Regions from separate parts of the Homo sapiens genome. Here regions 1, 2 and 3 are each linked to region 4. Evidence: promoter capture Hi-C in 16 types of primary human blood cells and fetal thymus (Javierre and others, 2016). All regions are on one chromosome and are shown on one strand. Each heading gives the region's core, a stretch centred on a gene start or on the middle of the fragment in contact. The rest is flanking DNA. Distances are from core to core; before and after follow the strand shown. Region 1 overlaps COA8 (cytochrome c oxidase assembly factor 8). Region 2 overlaps KLC1 (kinesin light chain 1). Region 3 holds the start of BAG5 (BAG cochaperone 5). Region 4 holds the start of RD3L (RD3 like).

Region 1 (2,768 bases), core at 180-2,679, 350 kb before region 4:
TGAATGCAGAAGAAATGGCGGACTTCTACAAGGAATTTTTAAGTAAAAATTTTCAGAAGCACATGTATTATAACAGGTAGGTGTTTACTCTTTTCCTGAAAATTTGAATAGCACATCCAGATTAGGTAGGAGTGTTTTCTTACCTGAATTTAACAACATTCATGTTTATATCAGAGGTAGAAGTTGCAAGACTTTATCAACTTTTTTTTTTCTTTTTTTCTTTTTTTTTTTTTTTTTGAGACGGAGTTTCGCTCTCTCGCCCAGGCTGGAGTGCAGTGGCGCCATCTTGGCTCACTGCAAGCTCCGCCTCCTGGGTTCACGCCATTCTCCTGCCTCAGCCTCCCGAGTAGCTGGGACTACAGGCACCCGCCAGCACGCCTGGCTAATTTTTTGTATTTTTAGTAGAGACAGGGTTTCACCGTGTTAGGCAGGATGGTCTCAATCTCCTGACCTCGTGATCCGCCTGCCTTGGCCTCCCAAAGTGCTGGGATTACAGGCATGAGCCACTGCGCCTCGTCTATCAACTTTATTTTTTAAGTGACTGCAGTGGCTTAAAAAGATACCAATTTTTTTAGGTCGGGTGTGGTGGTTCACACCTGTAATCCCAGCACTTTAGGAGGCCAAGGTGGGCAGATCACCTGAGGTCAGGAGTTCAAGACCAGCCTGACCAACATGGAGAAACCCTGTCTCTACTAAAAATACAAAATTAGCCAGCTGCTCCGGAGGCTCAGTCAGGAGAATCGCTTGAACGTGGAAGGTGGAGGTTGCGGTGAGCTGAGATCGTGCCATTGCACTCCAGTCTGGGCAAGGAGAACAAAACTCCATCTCAAAAAAAAAAAAAAAAAAAAAAAACGGGTTTTAGCTGGTTACAGATAATAATGACCTGTATTTACAGGTGAAATTAATAGGACATGATATCTGAGATTTGCTTTAAAATATTTGTAGGCTGGATACGGTGGCTCGCACCTGGAATCCCATGACTTTGGGAGGCCAAGGTGGGTAGATCACTTGAGTCCAGGAGTTCAAGACCAGTCTGGGCAACATAGTGAAAGGCTTGAGCTAGGAGGACCACTTGAGCCTGGGAGGTTAAGGCTACAGTGAGCCGAGATCCGGCCACTGCATTCCAGCCTGGATGGCAGACAGAGTAAGACCCTGTCTCAATAAATAAATAAATAAGTAAGTAATTAAAAAAATATATATATATATATAAAACAGTTCCAGAGTTACAAAGCCTGATGGGCAGGTGAAGCCAGACTTCAAGAATGTCGACATGGGCCAGGCACGGTAGCTCACACCTGTACTCCCAGCACTTTGGGAGGCCAAGGCAGATGGATTGCTTGAGCCCAGGAGTTTGAGACCAGCCTGGACAACATGACAAAACCCTGTCTCTACAAAAAATACAAAAATTAGCTTGGTGTGGTAGTGTGCACCTGTAATCCCAGCTACAGGAGGCTGAGGCAGGAGGATCCCTTGAGCCCAGGAGGTGGAGGTTGCAGTGAGCCGAGATCCCGCTACTGCACTCCAGCCTGGGCTACAGAGTGAGACCCTAATAAAAAAAGAGAATATAGATACAGTCAAAGGCTGGATGGACTCAGTGAGGGACAGTCTGACCTAAAGATTAGTCCTGAAATATCTGGATTCCATTTCTAAGGTTGTCATGTATTACTCTGAATTAGTTAAGTCATTCAAACAAGCGAGTATAATCTTTCCCTGGTCTTTGGACACGTAGCTTGTTTGCACGGGGCACAGTCTCTGATGGGCTTCATGTTTTCTCTGTGGCACTCGGGTGAAGAGGACCAGCCTTACCCAAGATCAGGCCTTAGAGGAGCCTGGCCCCCACCACCACCTCCTGCCCCTGCCTTCCCTGTGGCAACAGCAGAAGTGTAGCTTGCTTTTACATGTCATAGAATCAGGTCGTCTGTATTAGTGAAATGGAATATGGCTTTTCCTTGAAGAACTGTAATCCCCATGGGCTACCGGTTTTCTTCTCCTGGAAGCGCTTATTTACTTTGGGCACTGCTCCTCATGACAGCATTGCTTAAGTAGGTGGAGGTGTAAAGGTGGTTTGCAGGTGGAGAGGAACTTTCTGTCCTGCCATGCAGAGCCTCCAGAGTGGTCGTGGCCCATCACATCCCTAAAATGCTGCCAGCTCGGCAGGCCTGGGGTTTCCAAGGGCTCTCTTGGATCTTTTAGCAAAAATCAAAGGAGTACTTAAGAGGCTGAGGCAGAAGAATTACTTGAACCCAGGAGGCAGAGGTTGCAATGAGCCAAGATTGTGCCACTGTACTCCAGCCTGGACAACTAAGCAAGATGAAAAAACAAAACAAAAAAAACTCCAAAGGAGGGGCCGGGTGCGGTGGCTCACACCTGTAATCCCAGAACTTTGGGAGGTTGAGGCAGGTGGGTCAGGAGATCGAAACCATCCTGGCTAACACGGTGAAACCCTGTCTCTACTAAAAAAAAAAAATACAAAAAATTAGCCGGGTGTGGTGGCGGGCGCCTGTAGTCCCAGCTACTCGGGAGGCTGAGGCAGGAGAATGGCGCGAACCCGGGAGGCGGAGCTTGCAGTCAGCCGAGATCGCGCCACTGCACTCCAGCCTGGGCGACAGACCGAGACTCCGTCTCAAAAAAAAAAAACACCAAAGGAGGATGGTGGCGGCCTCCAGAAACAGGGCTGGAGAGGACTCCAGGCGTCGCCAGTGGGCCTCACTCTCAGCCTGAGGAGAGGCAGGCCTCTATGAATAGTTTAGCTTTAACAAGGGCAGGGA
Region 2 (2,700 bases), core at 56-2,555, 290 kb before region 4:
GGCTATGTGTTTTGGAAATGCCATTTAGATGTTTTGCTGCTTTTAATCTTTGGCATTAATTTCAGTTGCTGTCATAAAAAAGAATTAAGACATAAACCAGAAAAGTAATTAAATGTGTCTGCAAAGGAAAAACAGAAACTGCAGAATATGGTATTTCAAGGTCATAAATTACAAATGTGCATATTTATTATTCCCCTATAAAATGTTAATTAAAAAATTTTCATATTTACTTGATGTAACAGAAATGAAACCTGTAATGAGGGATCTAATTTCTTTTTCTTTTTTCATTCCAGAATGTATGACAACATGTCCACAATGGTGTACATAAAGGAAGACAAGTTGGAGAAGCTTACACAGGATGAAATTATTTCTAAGACAAAGCAAGTAATTCAGGGGCTGGAAGCTTTGAAGAATGAGCACAATTCCATTTTACAAAGTTTGCTGGAGACACTGAAGTGTTTGAAGAAAGATGATGAAAGTAATTTGGTGGAGGAGAAATCAAACATGATCCGGAAGTCACTGGAGATGTTGGAGCTCGGCCTGAGTGAGGCACAGGTACGAGTGAGAATGACTCAGACGTTATCAGGAACTTTTGATGGTAAAATGGAGACTTGTTTGAAATAAGCAGTTTCACTAAAGAAGAGGAAAGATGATTATAGAATAACAGATCCAGGCCGAGTGCGGTGTGGCTCAGGCCTGTAATCCAAGCACTTTGGGAGGCTGAGGCAGGTGGATCACTTGAGGTCAGGAGTTTGAGACCAGCCTGGCCAACATAGCGAAACCCTGACTCTACTAAAAATACAAAAATTAGCCGGGCCTGGTGGCTGGCGTGTGTAATCCAGCTACTAGGCAGGCTTGAGGCAGGAGAATCACTTGAACCTGGGAGGCAGAGGTTGCAGGGAGCCAAAATTGCATCACTGCACTCCAGCCTGGGTGACAGAGCGAGACTTTTTCTCAAAGAAAAAACAAAACAAAACAGATCATGTGTTCTGTATGTTAATAAATTACTATTGATTTGGGCCTATCAGAATTGTATTGATTGATTGATTGAGATGGAGTTTTGCTCTTGCTGCCCAGGCTGGAGTGCAGTGATGCAGTCTCGGCTCACTGCATCCTCTGCCTCCTGGGCTCAAATGATTCTCCTGCCTCAGCCTCCCAAGTAGCTGGGATTACAGGCATGGGCCACCACACCTGGCTAATTTTGTATTTTTAGTAGAGACAGGGTTTCTCCATGTTGGTTAGGCTGGTCTTGAACTCCCAACCTCACGTGATCCACCTGCCTCAGCAAAGTGTTGGGATTACAGGCGCGAGCCACCATGCCCGGCCTCTGAATTTTATTTTTATTTTTATTTTTTTGAGACAGTGTTTGCTCTCGCCGCCCAGGCTGGAGTGCAATGGCTCAATCTCAGATCACTGCAACCTCTGTCCCCCGGGTTCAAGTGATTCTCCTGCCTCAGCCTCCCAAGTAGCTGGGATTACAGGCACATACCACCATTCCTGGCTAATTTTTTGTATTTTTAGTAGAAACTAAAATGTTGGCCAGGCTGGTCTTGAACTCCTGACCTCAGGGCCTCTCTGAATTTTGAAAAGCGGATCCAAAATAGTGGATACTGCTGTGTATCATTTAGGATTTGATTTGGCTGCCAGTATCAAAAAAACAAAAACAGTGGCTTAAACCACAAGATGTTTGTCAAATAAGTACTGAGGTACACTCTCCTGGACGGGTTCTGTAGCTACACAGTCATCGGGGATACTCAGGTTCCTAACATCTGCCACACTGCACCTTGGCAGCCTGTCTTGGGGACTGAGAGTGAGCTCCATGTGGCCCTGTTCTAGCATAGGGGAAGGGAAAGGAAGGACGTGCCTCCTTCCTTGAAGGCTGCTGCTTTGATGATGTGTACAGCAGTGCTTACATTGCATTGGCCAGACCTTATGGCTGTACCTGGGTGAGTGGGAGACTGGGGAATGTTGTCTTCCCACTTACAGTGGCAGGTCCTTAAGCCTAAGGAAGGAGAATGGACACTGGCCAGTGGGTGATGGTCTCTGCAATCCCAGGGCCAGATTGCTTCATATCTTTGACTAACCTTTGTTTCTATAATATCATGCTTGACATAGAGATGAAAACACTGGAAACATCTAGGTTTTTAAATACTCTCTCCTGATAACTTCTGGCTCTGTCAGCATATCTTAGGTAAAATTAAATATACCAAAGCTTTGCTTCTTTCTTAGCATTCTCTAGTTTAGTGAGTGAATAGAGCAGAAGAGGGGCTGCTGGCCAGCGGTTTCTGCTTTCATAGAGGAAGTGACTGCCCACACCCTGATTTTAGAGTCTTCATCCTAACCATGTTACAGCCTTGAGTTGCAGAACTGTAGCTCTGTTTGGATATTGTGAACGTATTATTTCTCAAGTTCTGTTACCTTGAGAACAGGTGACATGAATTTAAACTTGCTTTTTTGGTGTCGCAGATAAGAGTTTTAAAAAAAGAAGGAAGAAAAGGTCCCACCTTCTGGAGTTTCAGGTTTTAAACCTAGGAGGATAATAACCTGGTTATTATGTTATGAGAGGGATGGGCAGATGTATGTTCTAAAGAGAGAACAGATTGCTGCCAGCCAGCTCCTAGCTGTTTGTGCTCTTATGCTCCTAGGAACTTGCCACAGCCTCACGCTGGTCTGTTCCAGAAACCAGTGAGCACTCTGTAG
Region 3 (2,700 bases), core at 150-2,649, 380 kb before region 4:
TAAGTCATTCTAAAATTCTCATTTTAAAAAGGTATACTTCTGAGCAGTCATCCCACCTCAGCCTCCCCAGTAGCTGGGTCTACAGTCGTACACCACTACGCCCAGCTAATGTTATTTTTAGTAGAGACAGGTCTCACTATATTGCCCAGGCTGGTCTCAGACGATCCGCCCGCCTCCGCCTCCCAAAGTGCTGGGATTAAGGTGTGAGTCACCGTACGCGACACAAACTATTTGGAACCAGCAGGGCACCTTTATGAAAGGTGAAACAGTAGCTCTTGTAACCTTCCGAACACTAACAGTACCCCGCCCCGCCACACAGCTATGCCTAGTTTCCAGAAACTCTAAGCAAAAGAAAGAACCAGAACAAAAACCAGTGGCTCTCAGACATCCCCAAGGTCCCCGCTTCTTCGTTTCTCTCCATCCCTTTGTGCACTTCCCCTCCCCACCCTTTTAGCTCCTCACACATCTTCCCTCACAGAAGTCTCCCTGAAGAGATTAAAACCCCACAGGTAAAGAAGAGCGACCGGGACAGCGCTGAAGGGCACCACCTTGGGCTTTCGAGGCCCAACACCTCCTCAGCCCCCAACATGCTCCACTCTCTCAAAAAAAAACAACCCGCGAAAACGTGGTAACTATGAATAATTCATTCACTCGCCTCCCACTGGGAGTCCACAATGGCCTAATGCACGTTTCAAGCTCTTGGTTTCTATCAAACGGCTCGCTCAAGGTGGGTAACCAATGGAAACGCATAATCTATCCCCGGCGGATGTCCTGGAGGCCACGGAGGGAAGGCGGCCCGAGCTGCTTCCTCCCCGCCTCGCCCTTCCCTCTTGGCCCTTTACCCAAAAGAAGTCTGAATTGGATGCGGTCTTGGCGTCCCGTGGCTGAGGTGGCGAGGTGGAAGATCAGCCCTTTACGGGGTGCGGCACCGGAGCTGGGCCCCCAGCTGCATGCCTCGCACCCCTCCCGACTAGGTCTGAGCGGGGCAGCCGGTGAAGGGGCCGCTACTGGCTGCAGCAGCCGCTCCGGGCGTCTTGGCCCGGGTGCCAGGGCGCGCCTGCAGGACGTGACCTCACAATGGGCGCGCGAGGGGAGCTCGGCCCGGCCGGGGGAAGCCGGGGGAGGAGGGGAACCGAGGCCCGGCCGGAGACACCAGAGACCAGGCCCGGCCAGCCCCGGTCGCTTCCGACCCCAGGGGCGGGGACAGCGCCGAGACCGACTCTGCCCTGCCTGATCCGACAGGCCGCACGGGGCTGGGCGCTGGCGAAGGGGTGGCCCAGCGGGGAGCCCCGCGCGGAGGTGGTGCCCCACTCGTCCCCCCGAGAGAGGGAAAAGGCTACAAGCCGCGCTTCGCTCACCTGTCCCGCCCGCGCCATCGCGCGATGCGTCGCCGACGCTTCCACGACTTCCGCAGCTCCGGCAGTCGCCCGGGCCCGGCAGCCCCGCCCCTGGCCGAACACCCCTAAACCCGGGGACACCTCCTCCGGCGTCCGCGCCTAGCCGCCGGCAGCGCCACGCCCACCGCCAGCGGCGCAGCGAGGCAGCCTGGAGTGACCGCGACCAAGGAGCGGCCGCCCGGGTCAGCCCGCGCCGCCCGCCGCCCCCTCACCCCGTCGCACCGCTGGGAAAGCGCACGGTCGGCCGCGCCGCCGCGCTTCCTCGGGCTTCGCGACCCTGCCGTAAAGCGGCCCCTCGCGCCGTCGCAATGCTGCCGTGCGCCGCGGGAGCCAGGGGGCGTGGGGCCATGGTGGTCTTGCGGGCGGGGAAGAAGACCTTTCTCCCCCCTCTCTGCCGCGCCTTCGCCTGCCGCGGCTGTCAACTCGCTCCGGAGCGCGGCGCCGAGCGCAGGGATACGGCGCCCAGCGGGGTAAGCAGGGGCCTGGGGACATTGGGCCGGGAGGGGTGACCGGAAGGGAAGACAAACCCGGGCCTCGGGGCCACTCCCTGTTCTGCACAGCCGCCTCAGGCCTTTGTCCAGGTGCTCTCGCGTCCTATCCCGAACAGTCCCGCAGCCCCGAGGCTCCCGCATCAACGCCCTCAGTCGGATGGGACTGAGGGTGCCGCCGCCACCACGCCGGGGACTGTTGACAGCCAGAACCTTTAAGCGTAACAGAGTCACCTGGCAAGTTTGTACCTACCTTATTTGTTCCCGAGAATGATTATTTTTTATTTTTAAAGAGCTCTTGGCTTACCGTGCGTTTTTTTTCGTTGTGTGTGTGTGTGTTTTGGCTTTGTTACAATTATTAGTGCTTTTCTTCAAGCGGCGAGCACTTTATCATCGTACTTTTGTAGCACTTCACGTTGAATAGTTGTTATTTGCAAACTATGTGTGGGTATATGCATGTTACTGGCCAAAGATCCGCAAAGAATGTCTGTAGCAAGAATGTCTGTGGCAAGCAATTTTTATAAGTGGTACTTTTGGGAGGGATGTTTTGTTTAAGGGAGGCCTAGGCCTTGATTCCGTCTGTCAGATGAAAATGTTGACTAACGGTGTGGAATGGGCTGGAGATAAAATATTCAAGCAAAGCATGCAAATACCAAACAGGCTAATGAAGGAGGCTGGAAAACTTGGTTTAAACAATAATTAAAGAAGTATTAAAAAAGTGTTAATTAAAAATTGGACGGGCTCCGTGGCTCACGCTTGTAATCCCAGCACTTTGGGAGGCCGAGGCAAGCGGATCACGAAATCAAGAGGTGAGA
Region 4 (2,700 bases), core at 25-2,524:
TTAAATGTAATTTAAAACAATTGCTCACCAGACATCTACACAGTTAAAGAATTTACATGATAGAATACAGTTTCTAGTCAAAATATATGAGGAACTTGGACTTAGCAGTAGCAGGAATCATAAGAGAACATAGTATTTTTACCTGCTGAGAATAGTTCCAGTTTGGCAAGGTTGAACTTGTGAGCAAAGAACTTCAAGTTGTCTTTGTTCAGTCACTGGGATAGTTGTGTGGGGATTCTGGTAGTTTCTGAGCCAGTTGTAATCCACACCTGTTTTTTTCACTTTTTGTTCATTTTCGATTTCTTGTATTAATCTCTCTCGCTCCTTTAGGTGCCATTTTAATTCCCGAAGCAGAGTCTTTGTCACTATGTCTGAGCCAGGATAGTGTGTGGGTTTGTAGGAATCGTTTTTGGGCCATTTCATCCAGCCAAAAAGTGGCATTTTTAGCCTATGGAAATATTTTCACTTGTTTATTTGCTCAAAATGTTATGTTCTTCTGAGCAAATATTTGTTTCTTTACAATAAATTTGCCCGAAAAGTGCACGATTTTTTTTCACATTTAGCTATGCAGGTCAAAATAAGATTAGAACATGGATTAACGTCTTAATTTTTAACTAGGTCAGTGGCAGAAACCAAGCTTTGAAAATGCTTTTATGTAGCTTAGCAGAAATTAGATATACAAAGTCAGAGATAACATATAGACTGAATGATATCCGAAAATAACACTAACACTTGCTGTGAAAAGTTCTTAAGAGACTTAAAATATTAATGTCGGGGCAAGTGCTGCCTACAGATACTTTTGATTTATGTTTTGGACAGAAAAGGTTTAAAGCTTACCTGTTAAGTTGATGGGCTGATGTGATGTTGCCAAAGAGTTGACTGAAGTTGGTGACGAAGCTGTGTTTCACTGGGACGTATCTTGCTCTCCTAGGTGTGTCCTCTGTAGAAGGAATGCGCCACCTTATTTACCCACCGAAACTGTATTTGAAATAAATAACTTTCTGTGTTAGGAATGAGGCTGTGATGTCTTCATTTGGAGAGAATGCTCATTAATTCACCTTGTAAGTAAGCTAGAAGAAATGACAAAAATAACTGACTATTTAATCTTCACAAGTTATATAATGGTCTGCCTTTTCAATGTAGCTCAGTCTATTTGAAAAAAATGCCAGCAGCTATAGATGCTGGTCCTAAATGCATTCCGACATGTCTTTGGTAGTGAAACGAAGAATGGTCGTCTAAAGCACCATAGATGCGCTCCGAGCTAGAGTGAAGACTGTCGCGTGATGTGATGCTTTGCTGTGCATAGCTGTAGGTCACAGTTTAGTGCTGTATTTTTATGCCTGTAGAGCTCTAAAAATAGCCACGTTGCTTTTATTCTTCAGCTTAACTTTCAGGCCATTTGGAAGCCGGGTCACTGTCCCCTCTAGTGAAAACAGGAAAAATAGATTAGACTTGACTATTTGCAAAACATACATTCTGAGAAAACTCATTGTAATTGAGTGAAATAGGTAAAGAATGCTGATGTGAATTATAATTGTGAAATATTTAGCAAATGTTACATTTTGTATTCATTTTGGTTTTTTCAAAATAGTTAAATTTGTATATTTAAGCAAGTTGAAATGCTAGGGGACATAATAAACAGCTAGATAACTTTAAAATATACTTTATAATCTCTGAAAATATGGTAATAAGGCAGTAATTGGTTGTCAGGGAAAAATAGAGGCATAAGAACATACAAAATTCTAAACAAAATCTTATAATTCATCGTAGAAAAATCATTTTCGTGTTTTTTTTTTGGAGCTGAGGATGAAAAACTTATATTTACTATTTAGGTGCATATTGGTTTGTAATGGTCATTATTGTGCTATTTCTTTTTTCTTTCTTTCTTTTTTTTGAGACAGAGTCACGTTGTGTCACCCAGGCTGTAGTGCAGTGGCATGATCACGGCTCACTGTAGCCTCGACCTCCTGGGCTCAAGTGATCCTCCCACCTCAGCCCCCTGAATAGCCAGGACCATAGGTGCATGCCACCACAGGTGCATGCTACGGCATGCCTGGCTAGTTTAAAAAAATATATACACACGCACATATGTACATACATATATGTTTTATATATGTACATATGTGTATGTATTTTATATATGTACATATATGTATATATACACATAAGTATATATACGCATATGTATATGTATTATATATGTATATATAAATATACACACATATATAATACACACATATATACACACACACATACATTTCTTTTTTTTTTTTTTTTGTAGAAATAAGGTCTCCCTGTGTTGCCCAGGCTGGTCCGTAAACTGGGCTCAAGTAATCCACCTGCCTCAGCCTCCCAAAGTGCTGGGATTACAGGCATGAGCCACTGCGCTGGCCTGTGCTAATTTCCTATGCAAGTGTTTGTCTTTTGCTAAAGAGTAGATAGTATAAAAGGTCTTTTACTCCCCAGTTCTCTGTGAAACGACTGCATAGTGGTTTTCCCTTTTATAGTATTTGTTTCTTCTGTTGCTTTTCCTTTCAAGTGAGCCATGAAGAGTAGACGTTGTTTACATCAGACTTGCATGTCATGCATGACCCAGAGTGACGTGTGTGGCCACCCTACAGCTCCTGTTGCTTAGATGTTAGAAAAAGCCAGATGTCAGGACTGATTATTGTCAACTGGAAGGTTTTCACATGACATTGC

The links. Contacts are between HindIII fragments. The CHiCAGO score rates a contact against its expected background, and 5 or more counts as called.
Region 1: a fragment that was not itself captured here is called in contact with the fragment with the promoter of RD3L in region 4 in 1 of 17 cell types (M2 macrophages); the score reaches 6.5 in M2 macrophages.
Region 2: a contact is called between a fragment that was not itself captured here and the fragment with the promoter of RD3L in region 4, in 1 of 17 cell types (M2 macrophages). The highest score is 5.1, in M2 macrophages.
Region 3: the fragment with the promoter of BAG5 here is called in contact with the fragment with the promoter of RD3L in region 4 in 8 of 17 cell types (naive CD8 T cells, erythroblasts, non-activated CD4 T cells and 5 more); the score reaches 14.0 in naive CD8 T cells.

The regions. Positions count from the first base shown.
Region 1 is chr14:103,587,289-103,590,056 of GRCh38, forward strand. It overlaps COA8 (cytochrome c oxidase assembly factor 8), which reads left to right. Exons shown (of 5, transcript NM_001370595.2): 4 at 1-76. Among named protein-coding and RNA genes, the nearest start is that of COA8, 26 kb to the left of the region's middle. RefSeq lists a silencer at 1,232-1,406. The HindIII fragment of the contact is 3,067 bases long and covers 1-2,768 here.
Region 2 is chr14:103,654,271-103,656,970 of GRCh38, forward strand. It overlaps KLC1 (kinesin light chain 1), which reads left to right. Exons shown (of 17, transcript NM_001394837.1): 2 at 294-555. The coding sequence starts at 295. Among named protein-coding and RNA genes, the nearest start is that of KLC1, 26 kb to the left of the region's middle. The HindIII fragment of the contact is 1,809 bases long and covers 402-2,210 here.
Region 3 is chr14:103,561,258-103,563,957 of GRCh38, forward strand. BAG5 (BAG cochaperone 5) reads right to left here and starts at 1,400. Exons shown (of 2, transcript NM_001015048.3): 1 at 1,359-1,400. COA8 (cytochrome c oxidase assembly factor 8) reads left to right here and starts at 1,703. Exons shown (of 5, transcript NM_001370595.2): 1 at 1,703-1,867. The coding sequence starts at 1,745. RefSeq lists enhancers at 5-518, 618-667 and a silencer at 1,008-1,657. The HindIII fragment of the contact is 16,544 bases long and covers 1-2,700 here.
Region 4 is chr14:103,941,255-103,943,954 of GRCh38, forward strand. RD3L (RD3 like) reads right to left here and starts at 1,275. Exons shown (of 3, transcript NM_001257268.2): 1 at 838-1,275; 2 at 143-448. The coding sequence starts at 441. The region is part of intron 1 of TDRD9 (tudor domain containing 9); the gene reads left to right. The HindIII fragment of the contact is 3,550 bases long and covers 831-2,700 here.